Linked DNA regions of Homo sapiens: all the other regions are linked to region 1. Evidence: promoter capture Hi-C in human tissues and cell types (Jung and others, 2019). All regions are on one chromosome and are shown on one strand. Each heading gives the region's core, a stretch centred on a gene start or on the middle of the fragment in contact. The rest is flanking DNA. Distances are from core to core; before and after follow the strand shown. Region 1 holds the start of POLM (DNA polymerase mu). Region 2 holds the start of ZMIZ2 (zinc finger MIZ-type containing 2). Region 3 holds the start of PPIA (peptidylprolyl isomerase A).

Region 1 (4,125 bases), core at 1,626-4,125:
AAAGTTCTTTAGGTTTCATAATAGTGATTTTTTTTTTTTTTTTTTGAGACGGAGTCTTGCTCTGTCTCCCAGGCTGGAGTGCAGTGGCATGATCTCAGCTCACTGCAAACTCCACCTCCCAGCTTCAAGCAATTCTCCTGCCTCAGCCTCCTGAGTAGCTGGGATTACAGGCATGTGTCACCACTCCCAGCTAATTTTTTTGTATTTTTAGGGAGATAGAGTTTCACCATGTTGGCCAGGCTGGTCTCGAACTCCTGACCTCCAGTGATCCACCCGCCTTGGCCTCCGAAAGTGCTGGAATTACAGGTGTGAGCCACTGTGCCCGGCCTCTATATGAGCAGCTGGAGAAGTTAGAAATCTTGAGATTTCCGGCTATGTGACTCCAGGGCAGTAAGCATTATAGAAAAGCAAGCCAAGTGAGAAACGGCAGGTCGCTGTTTATGCCCATTCTTTAGCAAAGTTCAGGCCCCACCACAATTCTAACCTTGTCTTATGAATGTGGTTTCAATCTCCAAACAAGGAGGGGGTCAGTTTTTCTTGCCTTTAACTATGAACTAAATTCCTCTCATAGTTATGTTGGCCTCTGCACTACAAGAAGAAGAAGAAAAAAAAAGAAATAAGAAAACCAATTTAGTCTGTGAGGTTAGATGCAAGAGGGAGGCAGTCATGTTAGATTTCTCTCATGACTTACAATTCTGCAAAGGTGGTTTCACCTCCACGGCAGGCCACCTCTCCCTGGGTATAGGGCACATCTTCGTCCTGCAGAGCAGGCAAGTCCCTCTCTCTCCCCACCTCCTCACCCCTTCTTGCCCCCACTGGCCAATCTTCATGAATCCTTCAGCCCCATGTTGTCCTAGCAGACACTTTGCAGCAACCACTCAGAGGGCCTGGCTGATTTCTAAGCTAGGCAGTTTCTTCCACTGTCATTTGGATGAGATTCCTTGCACAAACATTTTTGCACAGTTGCCCAGTGTTTTAAGTATTCAGGTCTCATAGTCTTAAAAACTGCCTCTGCCTTCCCAGGAGAGAACAAGGGCTCCAAGGGGAGCCCAGGTGCTCTGGCCAGACAGAGGACATTAAAAGGAACAGAAATGGTTTTAGACAGCTAGAGGGATCTGCTCAGGGGATATTTGGGCAGAGCCTCCTCCTTGAGAAGGGTAGGAGCCAGATCCACAGACGAAGACCCTTAGAGCCTGCCCATCCCTGCTGGCACAAGGGGAGGATGGGGAGAGAGGGACCATACGCAGGCCTCCTGGCTTCTGTATGTGGGTCCTGAGGCCCAGGAAGCTCTACAGCCCTGAAGAGGTAGATGAATTAGGAGGCTGGGAGATGGTGTAGGAGGTCAAGAGGATGCCTGGGCTGAGCCATCTCCCCCACTCCCCTCAGCCCTGTGCTCTGAGTGCAGAGATGGGGAAGAGCCAGCCCACTAAAGATGTCAGAGAGGAGCCAAAGAAAAAGGATAGGTGCTCAAGGAGTCTGGGGCTCAAGACTGAGGACGATGGGGCAGTGATGAGGAGAGGCATGTGGAAGGGGGTTGCATCTGATCTGGTGTCCCATCAGTTAGGCTGAGCAGTGCCACACTACCGTAACAGAGGTTACAAATGGAGTATATCTAAATAAGATAGACAGAAGACTTGATATTATCAAGACATCAGATTTCCCCAGCTTGATCTATAGATTCAATGCAATCCCAATCTTGGGAAAGGAATTGCTGGATCAATGTGTATTATTTTGTTTTCATTTTGTTGGATGTGGTTGCCACATTGGCTTCCACAGTCCTTCCTATGGATTGCCAATTACCTCGCACCTTCAACATGTGTGGTCAATTTTTTTGAATGTTTGATAAACCCACAACTGAAGATATTCTCATTTAGGTATTCTGTAACGACTGGACAGGTTGGGCACTCTGGTCATAAATTTATTGACCAGGATTTCTTCTAAGAATCATCTACGTGAGTTTTTTTGCTAATTTTTCTATTAAATTATTGTCTTTTTATCTATGGACAATTTGATAAGATTATCATGAGATAATCTTAATTCCAAAATATCTCACACTTTATCCCAGTTTATCTTCTGACTCTAATTTTTAATCAGATTTAAAATTTGTCTGTAGTCCAGTTTATCATTCTTTTCCTTTAGTGTTTCCAAGTTTATTGTGATATTTAGATCATAAAAACATTCACCGACTTTTTTCCAGTACGTTGTTGGTTTCCTTTTTAGATGGAAATGTTTGACCCATCTGGAATTTATTTTGGTGTTAAGGAATGAGGAAGGGCACCAACTTCTATTTTTCCAAATGGCCTGCCAGTTGTCCTAATGCCATTCGACTGAAAAATCTTCCCGCGTGTTTGAAGCGACCGCCCCACCAGCGCATTGGAAACCCGCGTGTCGGTCCTGCGCCCGCCGGCTTCCGTGTGACAGTCCCGAGCGCAGAGGGATCGGGCACAGCCCGCACGCGTCCGCCCCGAGCCGCCGGCTCAACCCTAGACCCAGCCCCGGCGCCAAGGACACAGCCCACCCCGCTCCGCCCGGGCCTAGGTCCCAGTTCACCCTCCCTAGCCGGGGACGCCCCCTTGACCCCGCCTCCTCCACCCCCTCCAACACCCTCCCCGCCCCGCTCCAGCCCAGCCTCTCCTCCCGGAGGCCAATGGGGCCGAACAGCGCTTTCCGAGACATTAATTTAAATAAAAGGCGGGTCCTCTGCCGTTATTTGCATGGAGGCGGGTCTTCCGGAGCGGCCGGGACACCCAATCCTGTAGGAGCCCGGACCCTCCCCAGCGCTCCGACTGGCCCAAGTAGCGAGCCCCACGGAGAGGCCTCATTTGCATAGGGCGGGGCCACGTCCTCTTCCAGCCGGCGGCCGCCCGCCCGCCCACCCGCTTCCGTCAGCCTCACTGGGGCTTCCTTCCGTCTCGCTCGGAGTTTCCCTCTGCGTTCGCTCCGCGCTGCTGGAGGCTGTCGTCCCAATGCTCCCCAAACGGCGGCGAGCGCGGGTCGGGTCCCCTAGCGGCGATGCCGCTTCCTCCACGCCGCCCTCGACGCGCTTCCCGGGAGTCGCCATCTACCTGGTCGAGCCTCGCATGGGTCGCAGCCGCCGGGCCTTCCTCACAGGCCTGGCGCGCTCCAAAGGCTTCCGCGTCCTTGACGCCTGCAGGTGCGGGGCGGCGCGGCGCGGCGAGGGCTTCCATGGCACTTCTGGTTTTGGATTCTAAGTTTGCAGTGGCACTTCGTGGTCTTGTGACCTTTCCCTGAGCCTCCATCTCCTCTTCTGTAAAGGGTGCTATTAATTAGGGCGAGGCGTGTTTTAAAGGATCACTGCGAGAATCAAAACCAGAGGTCAGGGGTAATTAATAAGCAGTAGGCCGGGCGCGGTGGCTCACGCCTGTAATCCCAGCACTTTGGGAGGCCGAGGCGGGCAGATCACGAGGTCAGGAGATCGAGACCATCCTGGCTAACACGGTGAAACCCCGTCTCTACTAAAAATACAAAAAATTAACCGGAGGTGGTGGCGGGCACCTGTAGTCCCAGCTACTCGGGAGGCTGAGGCAGGAGAATGGCATGAACCTGGGAGGCGGAGCTTGCAGTGAGCCGAGATCGCGCCACTGCACTCCAGCCTGGGCGACAGAGTGAGACTCTGTCTCAAAAAAAAAAAAAAAAAAAGTCGTATTTGCTAACAGCCCTTCTGCCTGGGCTATGTCCCACCTGTGAGCGAGACTGACTTCTCAAGAGGCCCGGAGCCCGCAGGCTCCTCTGTCCTCAGGCCTGAGTAAATAACACGACTGAGAAGCTCTTGTAGGAAGGGAACCAAGAGAAGAAAAAATGGCGGCTACAGAGACAACACCCAGAGTAAGGGAGCTGGGGGTGCCCCCTAGTTTGGAGGTTGAGAGAGCAAACGAACCTGGGGCTAGTATTCCCCCACAGTTGTGTTTGATTTTTTAACATTACCAGGGATCAGTAGTGCGCCAGACCCACTCAGGAGAGGATGATAGCAGCTTAGAGTGTACAAGGCACTATCTTTGTACAACAACCCCACAGGGTGGATATGTTATCTCTGCTTTACAGAAGAGGAAATCAAAGTATAGACACGTGGCTTGCCCAAGAGCCAAACAAGTATGTGGCAGGCAG
Region 2 (4,140 bases), core at 189-2,688, 670 kb before region 1:
CAGGAATAAGCAATGGCCCAGGCATGAGACATTTCAGTGAACAGCTGAAGGGACAACCTTAACCTGGCATCAGTTTACAATGTGTAAGATGGATATCTGGTAGCATCCTAGGACTGAGGACACATGACCACCTTCATGTCATCAGCCCTTGGGAGCTCAATCCCAATAATCAGGATGCTCCCCAAACATCTTAGGCCTGTCCTTCAGAAATCTACAACCGGCAACTGTCACCTGCTTGTTCTCTTCATTTACACTTCCAGCTTGTAACTATCCCCTGGGCATGACAAGGGCTAGAGGTCAGTACCTCTGGAAGTTAAGATTCCTTCACTTCTCCTGTTTCCACACTAAGCATCAAGGGATGCCCTCTGGTTCTAGCTTGCCAGAACTTGGTGGTGAGTCTGTGTCCATCCTATCCGTAATCACCACGGTCTCAGACCAAGTCACATGTTCCGTGTGTGTCCCTGTGAAATCTGCGATGACACAAATTAAAGACACCACCATGGATGTTCTGTAATACTGGAAAGAGGGTACCCTAGGGAGAAGGAGAGGCAGAACACTGCAGGGCAGAGGGTCCAGGGAATGGGAGGAGAGACACGGTAGGTGGAGGGGTAAACAAGGCACCGGGTGGGGGTGCCGCGGTGAAGGACACCTGGCACTAGGGAAGACAAGGCACCTCAGGGGAGCAGGGCATCCTCACGCCTGAGCTTCAGTATGTCCAGTTTGGAAAGGGGTGTCCCCATCAAAACTGGCAGCTGGGGGCTGGCCGCTCAGCGTCGTTCAGCCCAGGAGCGGAACAGCTCCTCCGCGAGCAGGTGACGGCCTCAGACGGCCCCCACATCGCCGTGCTGGTGGGCACGTAAGTAGGAGCGGAGGGGCGTACCATGTAGGTGAGACTGCCTGGCCCCAAAGCTAGGAACGATCAGGTTGGAGCGAAGGCCCGGCCAGCCTTCATCGCTCAGGAGAACCCCGAGCGCCGCTTACACCCCTCGGCCAGCCTCCAACAAAGACTCAGGGGAGGGCTGGATGACCCTGACGCCCACGGGGCCGAGCCTGCCCAAGACCACGACGCACGCGTGGCAGGTGCCGGCAGGTGGGCGGCAGAGCCTCTAGCCCCAGCCCAGCTGTGAACCCTACCGTGGCGCCGCAGCGGAACCGGGGCGCCCCGGGCGACCAGCTACACCTGCCTGCCCGCCCGCACCTGCCGGCCCGCACCTGCCGCACCTGCCTGCCCCCGCCGGCCCACACCTGCCTGCTGGCGGCGTTGCCAGGGGCCACCCCCAGGACCCCGCTCACCTCCGCCCGGCCTGGCCCGGCCCCTCGCCGTGGCGGCCCCCGGCCCGCGCCGCTCCATGCGCTCAGCCCGCCCTCCGCGCCGCCCGCCGCCCCGGGGCCGCCGCCACCCGCGCCATCGCGCCGCCGCCCGCTCCGAGGGCACAATGGAGCCGCCGCCGCGCCGCTCATGCATATGCATGACGCCGCGCAGCCGGCCCCGCCTCCCAGGCCAGAGCAGCAGAGCCCCGAGCCGGCGCTCGGGGCGGGGGCGGCCGCGAGCCCGAGCGGCCCAAAGCGGCAGGGTGGGGCCAGGGCCGCAGGTGGCTGGGCGGGCAGGAGACGCAGCCTGATCGCGACCTGCGCCCCCAGCCCCCTCCACACCTTTCTGAACGCGGCGTCGGCAGAGCCACTGCGCTCTTCCTGCTCGCAGTCCGCCGGGAGCGGGGCGGGGCCGGGCGGCGGAGGCGGGGCCAGGACGCCGGGGCGGGGCCGAGTGGAAGGCGGGGCCAAGGTGCCGGGGCGGGGTCGGGAGGAGGAGGCGGATCCAGAGAGCCGGGGTGGGGCCAGGGCTCGGGGCGGGCCCCGGCGGAGGAGGAAAGGAAGAGTGAGTCCTTGCCCTTCCCCCACCCGCCCCGCCCGCGCCCCGCCCGCGCCCCCCCTGCTTCCTGGGAGTCCATTGCTCTGGCCCGGCGGGCGGGGACACGACTGGGAGACAGAGAGACCCAGGGTGCCACTTTTGGGAGGGGATCTTATTAAAGGACTCCGGAAGCCCCTCGTTAAAGCAGAAAACTAAACTTAACAAGTTCGCTGTCCTCACTGCTCAGTTCTCTCTTCCCAGTGGTTCTCCTTCTGGAAAAAGTCACTATTGAGCTAGTCTAGCCTGATGGAATAGCCTCTCTGATCAGTTTCGATCTTTGAAATGCTATTATCAGCCTTTAAGTTATTCTTGACTTTTCCTACCGTAAGTTGAGGAAGACCACATTCTCTCAACTACCCATAATTAATTTTTCTTAATTGTGGTAAAATACACATAACGTAAAACTTACCATCTTAACTGTTTCCAAGTGTAGTTCTGTGGCACCAAGTACATTCACATTCTTGTGCAACCACCAACCGTCTCCAGGACTTTTTCATCTTCTCAAATGGAAACTCCATACCCAGTAAACACTAGCTCCCCATTCTTTCCTCCTCCTAGCCTTTGGCATTCACTATTCGTCTCTAAATTAGACTACTCTAAGGACATCGTATAAGTGGAATCATACATTATATGTCTTTTTGTGACAGTCTTACTTTAGTTAGCACAGTGTCCTCACTTCCATCCATGTTGTGGCATGTGTCAGAATTTCTTTCTTTCTTTCTTTCTTTCTTTCTTTCTTTCTTTCTTTCTTTCTTTCCTTTCTCTCTCTCTTTCTTTCTTTCTTTCTTTCCTTCCTTCTTTCCTTCCTTCTTCCCTCCCCTTCCCTTCCCTTCTTTTTTTTGACGGAGTCTCACTCTGTCGCCAGGCTGGAGTGCAGTGGTGCAATCTCGGCTCACTGCAACCTCCACCTCCCAGGTTCAAGCGATTCCCCTGCCTCAGCCTCCTGAGTAGCTGAGACTACAGGGGCACGCCACCACGCCTGGCTAATTTTTTTGTGTGTGTGTTTTAGTAGAGACGGGGTTCATCATGTTGGCCAGGATGGAATCGATCTCCTGACCTCGTGATCCGCCTGCCTGGGCCTCCCAAAGTGTTGGGATTACAGGCGTGAGCCACGGCGCCCAGCCCCTTCTTTCTTATGGCTGAATAATATTCCATTGTATGCATATTCCACATTTAAGTTATCCATTCATCTATCAATGGATACTCCACAATTAATTTTTGACATTGTTGAAATTTCTTCCCTGAAGGCCGCCTCTGAACTCTGTGCTCTATTTCTTTTGGGAATCATTCGTTCATTGAACAAATATGGCAGGCCTGCTGTACAACAGTCCCTGGTCTGGGGTCTGTGAACACTGGTCTGTCCCCAGGAACCAGGAGAATAAGGCCCCTCCATCCATACAGCAAGCATGTTAGAGGGGACAAACAGAAGGAAATGAGTTAACAGGTAACAGTGTGTCTGTCAGAAAGAGTGTTAGGAAGAAAACTAAATCAGGGCCAGAGAATGGGGAGGGAGTGATGAGGTATGAGGGACGGATTCTCTGTGGAGCTGGCCCTGAAGAAGAGACCCAAATGAAGGGGGAGGCAGGCACCAGGGGACCCTGACCATTCCTCTGTCTCGGAAGAGGCTGCATGTATGGGGGAGTTGCAGGCAGGTTTGTGGAGGATGCTGGAAGTGGCCACGCCAAGCATCCCAGGTGCCCCCAGGGCAGGCATCTCTCTCACCTCCTAACTGCTTCAATAATTCCTGCCCTGCTCCCCTGGGAAAGGCCACCTGGTGTCCACTCCTTTCTAGGGAATGTTTTCATTTTCTACTATATGATGAATTGTTAAGAAAGTCTTCCTTGAGGCCGGGCACAGTGGCTCACGCCTGTAATCCTAGCACTTTTGGAGGCCAAGATGGGTGGATCACCTGAGATCAGGAGTTCGAGACCAGCCTGGCCAACATGGTGAAACCCTGTCTCTACTAAAAAATACAAAAATTAGCCAGGCATGGTGGCGTGAAACCCTACTCTACTAAAAATACAAAAATTAGCCAGGTGTGGTGGCATGCACCTGTATTCCCAGCTATTCGGGAGGCGGAGGCAGGAGAATCGCTTGAACCCGAGAGGCAGAGGTTGCAGTGAGCTGAGATCGCACCACTGCACTCCACCGTGGGTGACAGAGCGAGACTCTATCCCCCCACCATCACCCCCCCAAAAAAAAAAGTTGCCTGGCGCGGTGGCTCACGCCTG
Region 3 (4,367 bases), core at 1,369-3,868, 710 kb before region 1:
AAACTTAGAAAATGGACCAACCTGCTGTCTTTGGGACCTTGTCTGCAAACAGCTGTAAGAGAAAATTACAGTTAATTAACATCTGCTTATTTTGTTGCTTAGTACCCATGTCTTTAGGGGCTTCTGAGTCATAAATTCATTTTCTCACTAGAATACTTCTTCAGTAATTACTTTAATTCCCAAGAACTGCTCCTGACAGCCATAAGGCCCTGCAGGCAGTTGGGTTAAGAAACATGAAACCCAAAGACATGCCAAAAATCCAATACTAGTCATAACTTAAATAGTGAGACTTCTAGAAAGTGTCTCAAACTTTTAGTACATCACACCTACTTCTGAAAAGATATATGGCTTCTTAAATGTCTATCACCACCCCCCAACTTGAGCTAGAACTTACAAGGCAAAATTCTAAGGAACAGCAAGCACTGCTGCACGATCAGGGGTAAACAGCTGTTCTTTTAGTCACTTGTAATGAAAATGCTACTACCTCCAATCTGTTAACATAGCTTTATGGATTAGATGAGCAGTCACTTCTTGGTATCCAGGCCCCTTACCTAGTAGTGGGGTAAAAAATAAAGATTGGTTTCTAGTATATCTGGTTTTGAACCTTTCTTGAATGTATAATACGTTATGGCTAGAGAGGTAGCTTAAATACCATAAACATTTACAAGCCCTTTCATAAAAACAGCTTGTTTAAAAGTAGCATTTTATAAGCTATTTCACAGATGTGACTGAATTAACTACTAGTATCCGTGTGCACTTCTCTTATAGCAATGTACTTTTTTTTTTTTGAGACAAGAGTCTCACTGTCACCAGGCTGGAGTGCAGTGGCACGATCTCGGCTCACTGCAGCCTCCGCCTCCGGGGTTCAAGCGATTCTCCTGCCTCAGCCTCTAGAGTAGCTGAGATTACAGGCAAGCGCCACCACGCCCAGCTAATTTTTGTATTTTTAATAGAGGTGGGGTTTCACCATGTTGGCCAGGACGGTCTCAATCTCCTGACTTCGTGATCCGCCCGCCTGGCCAACGTACTTATTTTTTAGTTTTTAGGTATTTGTACCTAGAATGTATGGTCTTTCTAAAACATCAGCTTTTCTCAGAGCTTTATAGTCGGTACGTTTAAGTTCCTATGGCTTCCCTTTCAGACTTTCGCTAAAGCCAAAGCCCTCATTGGCAGTTACCCCTCCATTCTCATCAAGACCTGCAAGTCCTTTCTCATTTCCCTGAAGCTCTTTGGGTAACCTGATGCCCAACATTAGGTCAGGCCAAGTTTCCACGAAAGCCCTTGTCACTTACCAGCTTTGACTACACTCATAGGTGGGGTGGGGTGTGGATTAACATGCAGTGTTTCAGTGCCTATGTGCCAGGCACTATGGACAGGGTAGGCAACAAGGAAATCGCTCTGTCCTCACGAAGACTGCATGAGGATCAATCTATTTTCGGAATAAGATCCCAAACTAGCCATTGGTGGCCTTTTGAGATGTGATTTAAAGGAATAAAACCACTAACATCCTATTTCGCTACTCCCTAAGGTCTATCCATGTTAACTGGAACGGAATCGTACTCAATATTTAACTTTGAAGACACGCGCCAAGTTTAGATACTATGCTATAATTACAACTGATCTTTAAGAACTCATTTAACGCTCTCAAAACTAATTAGGTAATCACTGGTAATCCACCTTGGTCGGAAGAGGCCTGCCTTGTGGCCAGTCGCAACTTGCTTGCTAGGCAGAGGGACAATCGGGAGGGGCTCAAGAGCGCCTCCCCCGCCAGCGCCGTCACTGCAGTGGAAGGCGGTCCTTGGGCACCAGCAAAGGCAAGGCCCATTTTCACATTTCCGCTTGGGGGTGGGGGACACGGAGGGACGTTTGGGGCACATGTATAAATATTCCTACTTTATCCAAATGGAAGATATTTCAAGTGGCAACCCGTCACATCCCAGCAAGTCTCCTTTTATAACATGGCCTCCCGGGATCTACAGGACCGAGCATGGACGGGCTCACACCGCGCCTCGATCCTTGAGAAAAACCCTCAAGCAAACAGCTTCCCAGCTCAGGATGTAAAGCACCCATGCCTGCCAGGGGACAGCTTCCCAGGAAGGCGGTCGCAAGCCCCCGCGAGCGTGCTTCTGGCTCCGGTCTGCGGCGCCCAGGCCAAGCTAGGGCGGAGCCCAACGACTCTCAAGGCGCGGACCTGAGCGCGGCCGCCGAGCACGTGCGTCGGACAGGACAGGGCGCGGCCACATGAGGCGGGCGGGCGGACGCGGGCCCCCTCCCCCAACGGCCTCGCAGCCGCCCCGCCTGCCTTTGTCCGCCGCCGTCCCGGCCTCCTCCCCGCGACTCGCGGACCTCCCAAAATGGCCCCTCGTCAGGAAATGGCGCCGCAGCCCGCCCGCGCTCGCCCCTCAAGCAGGGTCGCCCCGCGCCCGGGCCTTTGGGGCGCTACCACCCACCCCGACCCCGGCCCACTTTCTGGGCCCCATTCCCGCACGCCGCCGCCCGCCCGACCTCAAAGGAGACGCGGCCCAAGGGCTCGCCGTCGACGGCAATGTCGAAGAACACGGTGGGGTTGACCATGGCTAATAGTACACGGTTTTCCTCGGCGGTGGCGTCTGCAAAACGGCACGAGCCTGGCCTCCCGCCCCTTTTATACCACGTTCGGCCCCGCCCGCAACCCGGTCTCGCGCCTCCGTCCCGGCCAATCGGGTCTGCGACTTCGCCAGAGTGACAGTGCATCTGGCCTATAGACGGAAGCCGGCGCTGATGGGGACGACACATGAGGCGCGCGTGCGCGCTAACGCGCGGAGGCAGGTTCCCGCCTGCGGGCTCCGTCGCGGTGGCTGCGGCATGGGACTCGGGGCGGGGCGGCAGTACGGGACGCGGGGCACGGGGGAGGGTCAGTGCGGAACGGGGGTGGGCAGCATGGCGCGCGCACGCGGGAGACGGAAGCGCGGCGGCTCTTCGGCCGTTGTCAAGCGATGAGGCGCGTCTCCCCATTGCACAGAGGGGGCAACTGAGGCGAACGCAGGCCTCAAGGTCGCGCCGCCAGTCAAGGTCGACTGGGGTCCCGCGCCCGGACCCTACGCCTCCGCGAGCGGAAATGGGGATGGCGCGTCCCCGAGACCTAGGAGCAGCCTTGCGTCCGCATTCCGCGCGGGCAAACACCACGTCGCGTCCTACCAGGCAATGTCAGGAAGGAGGTTGCCTTTGAGCATCGCTGTTTTCTCTAACGAGGTGGGACAGGAGCAGTCTCCGGTTTTGAGAGATTATGAAATGCTTTCAAAATGCTCTACTTTCCGAAAATATCTTACACTCTGCTTGAATCTTCTTCAGGAGGAAGCCATTAAAACAGGAGCCTGGCCAGGCTCTTACCTGTGAAGATGCATTATGCACATTTTGCCCTCTTACTCTTTTTGAATCTCTGCTCCTGGTCTTTCCCTGCCCCCGCCCCGCCCAGCTCCTACCGCCCCCGCCTCGGGGCTGAATTGTGCTTTGATTTTTGGGTGAAAGATAAGTCACAATTTAAAAGCGAATTTCTTCAGGCAAAGACATTAATAATACTTTAATTAAAATGCACTTGTAGGCCAGGCGCGGTGGCTCATACCTGGCGCTTTAGGAGGCGCGGAGGCCAAGGCCGGGGAGGATCGCTTCATCTTAGGAGTTCGACACCGGCCACCAGCCTGGGCATCTTAGAGAGACGCCGTCTCTACAAAAAAATAAATAAAAATAAAAATTAGCTGGGCGTCGAGGCGCTCGCTACTCAGGAGGCTGGGCGGGGAGGATTGCTTGAGCCCGGAGGTCGAGGCTGTAGTGGGCGGTGATCGCATCACTGCATTCCAGCCGGGACGACAGAGTGTGACCCTCTCTCAAAAAATAGGCCGGGTGCGGTGGATCACGCCTGTAATTCCAGCACTTTGGGAGGCCGAGGCGGGAGGATCACCTGAGGTCAGGAGTTCAAGACCAGCCTGGACAACATGGTGAAACCCCATCTCTACGAAAAATACAAAATTAGCTGGGCATGGTGGTGCGCACCTGTAGTCCCAGCTACCCCCTCGGGAGGCTGAGGCAGGAGAATCGCTGGAACCCAGGAGGTGGAGGTTGCAGCGAGCAGAGATGGCGCCACTGCACTCCAGCCTGAGAGACAGAGACTCCGTCTCAAATAAATAAACAAAAATATAAAATAAAATGCACTTATGTGACTGGTGTTTTGTTAAGAAAACCTTACAAGGGAATTCATATATCCTGGGCTGTCACTTAAGTTGCAATATTAAGGATATTATTTAATGTTTCTTTTTGTTTTTTTGAGACAAGGTCTCACTCTCACCTAGGCTGGAAGTGCAGTGGTGTGTTATCGGCTCACTGCAACCTCC

The links. Contacts are between HindIII fragments. The study calls those that stand out against the background at their distance.
Region 2: the fragment with the promoter of ZMIZ2 here is called in contact with the fragment with the promoter of POLM in region 1 in 3 of the 25 tissues and cell types used here (adrenal gland, heart left ventricle and spleen).
Region 3: the fragment with the promoter of PPIA here is called in contact with the fragment with the promoter of POLM in region 1 in 1 of the 25 tissues and cell types used here (spleen).

What each region holds. Positions count from the first base shown.
Region 1 is chr7:44,081,280-44,085,404 of GRCh38, reverse strand. It overlaps POLM (DNA polymerase mu), which reads left to right and starts at 2,875. Exons shown (of 11, transcript NM_013284.4): 1 at 2,875-3,154. The coding sequence starts at 2,967. RefSeq lists a silencer at 2,310-2,889 and an enhancer at 2,601-3,101. The HindIII fragment of the contact is 16,372 bases long and covers 1-4,125 here.
Region 2 is chr7:44,746,145-44,750,284 of GRCh38, reverse strand. It overlaps ZMIZ2 (zinc finger MIZ-type containing 2), which reads right to left and starts at 1,438. Exons shown (of 19, transcript NM_031449.4): 1 at 1,294-1,438. RefSeq lists silencers at 1,134-1,183, 1,194-1,303, 1,414-1,943. The HindIII fragment of the contact is 31,122 bases long and covers 1-4,140 here.
Region 3 is chr7:44,794,932-44,799,298 of GRCh38, reverse strand. It overlaps PPIA (peptidylprolyl isomerase A), which reads right to left and starts at 2,618. Exons shown (of 5, transcript NM_021130.5): 1 at 2,506-2,618; 2 at 22-52. The coding sequence starts at 2,574. LOC105375259 (a long non-coding RNA gene) reads left to right here and starts at 2,769. Exons shown (of 2, transcript XR_007060300.1): 1 at 2,769-3,231; 2 at 3,875-4,183. RefSeq lists silencers at 2,148-2,497, 2,518-2,787, 2,878-3,077. The HindIII fragment of the contact is 11,905 bases long and covers 1-4,367 here.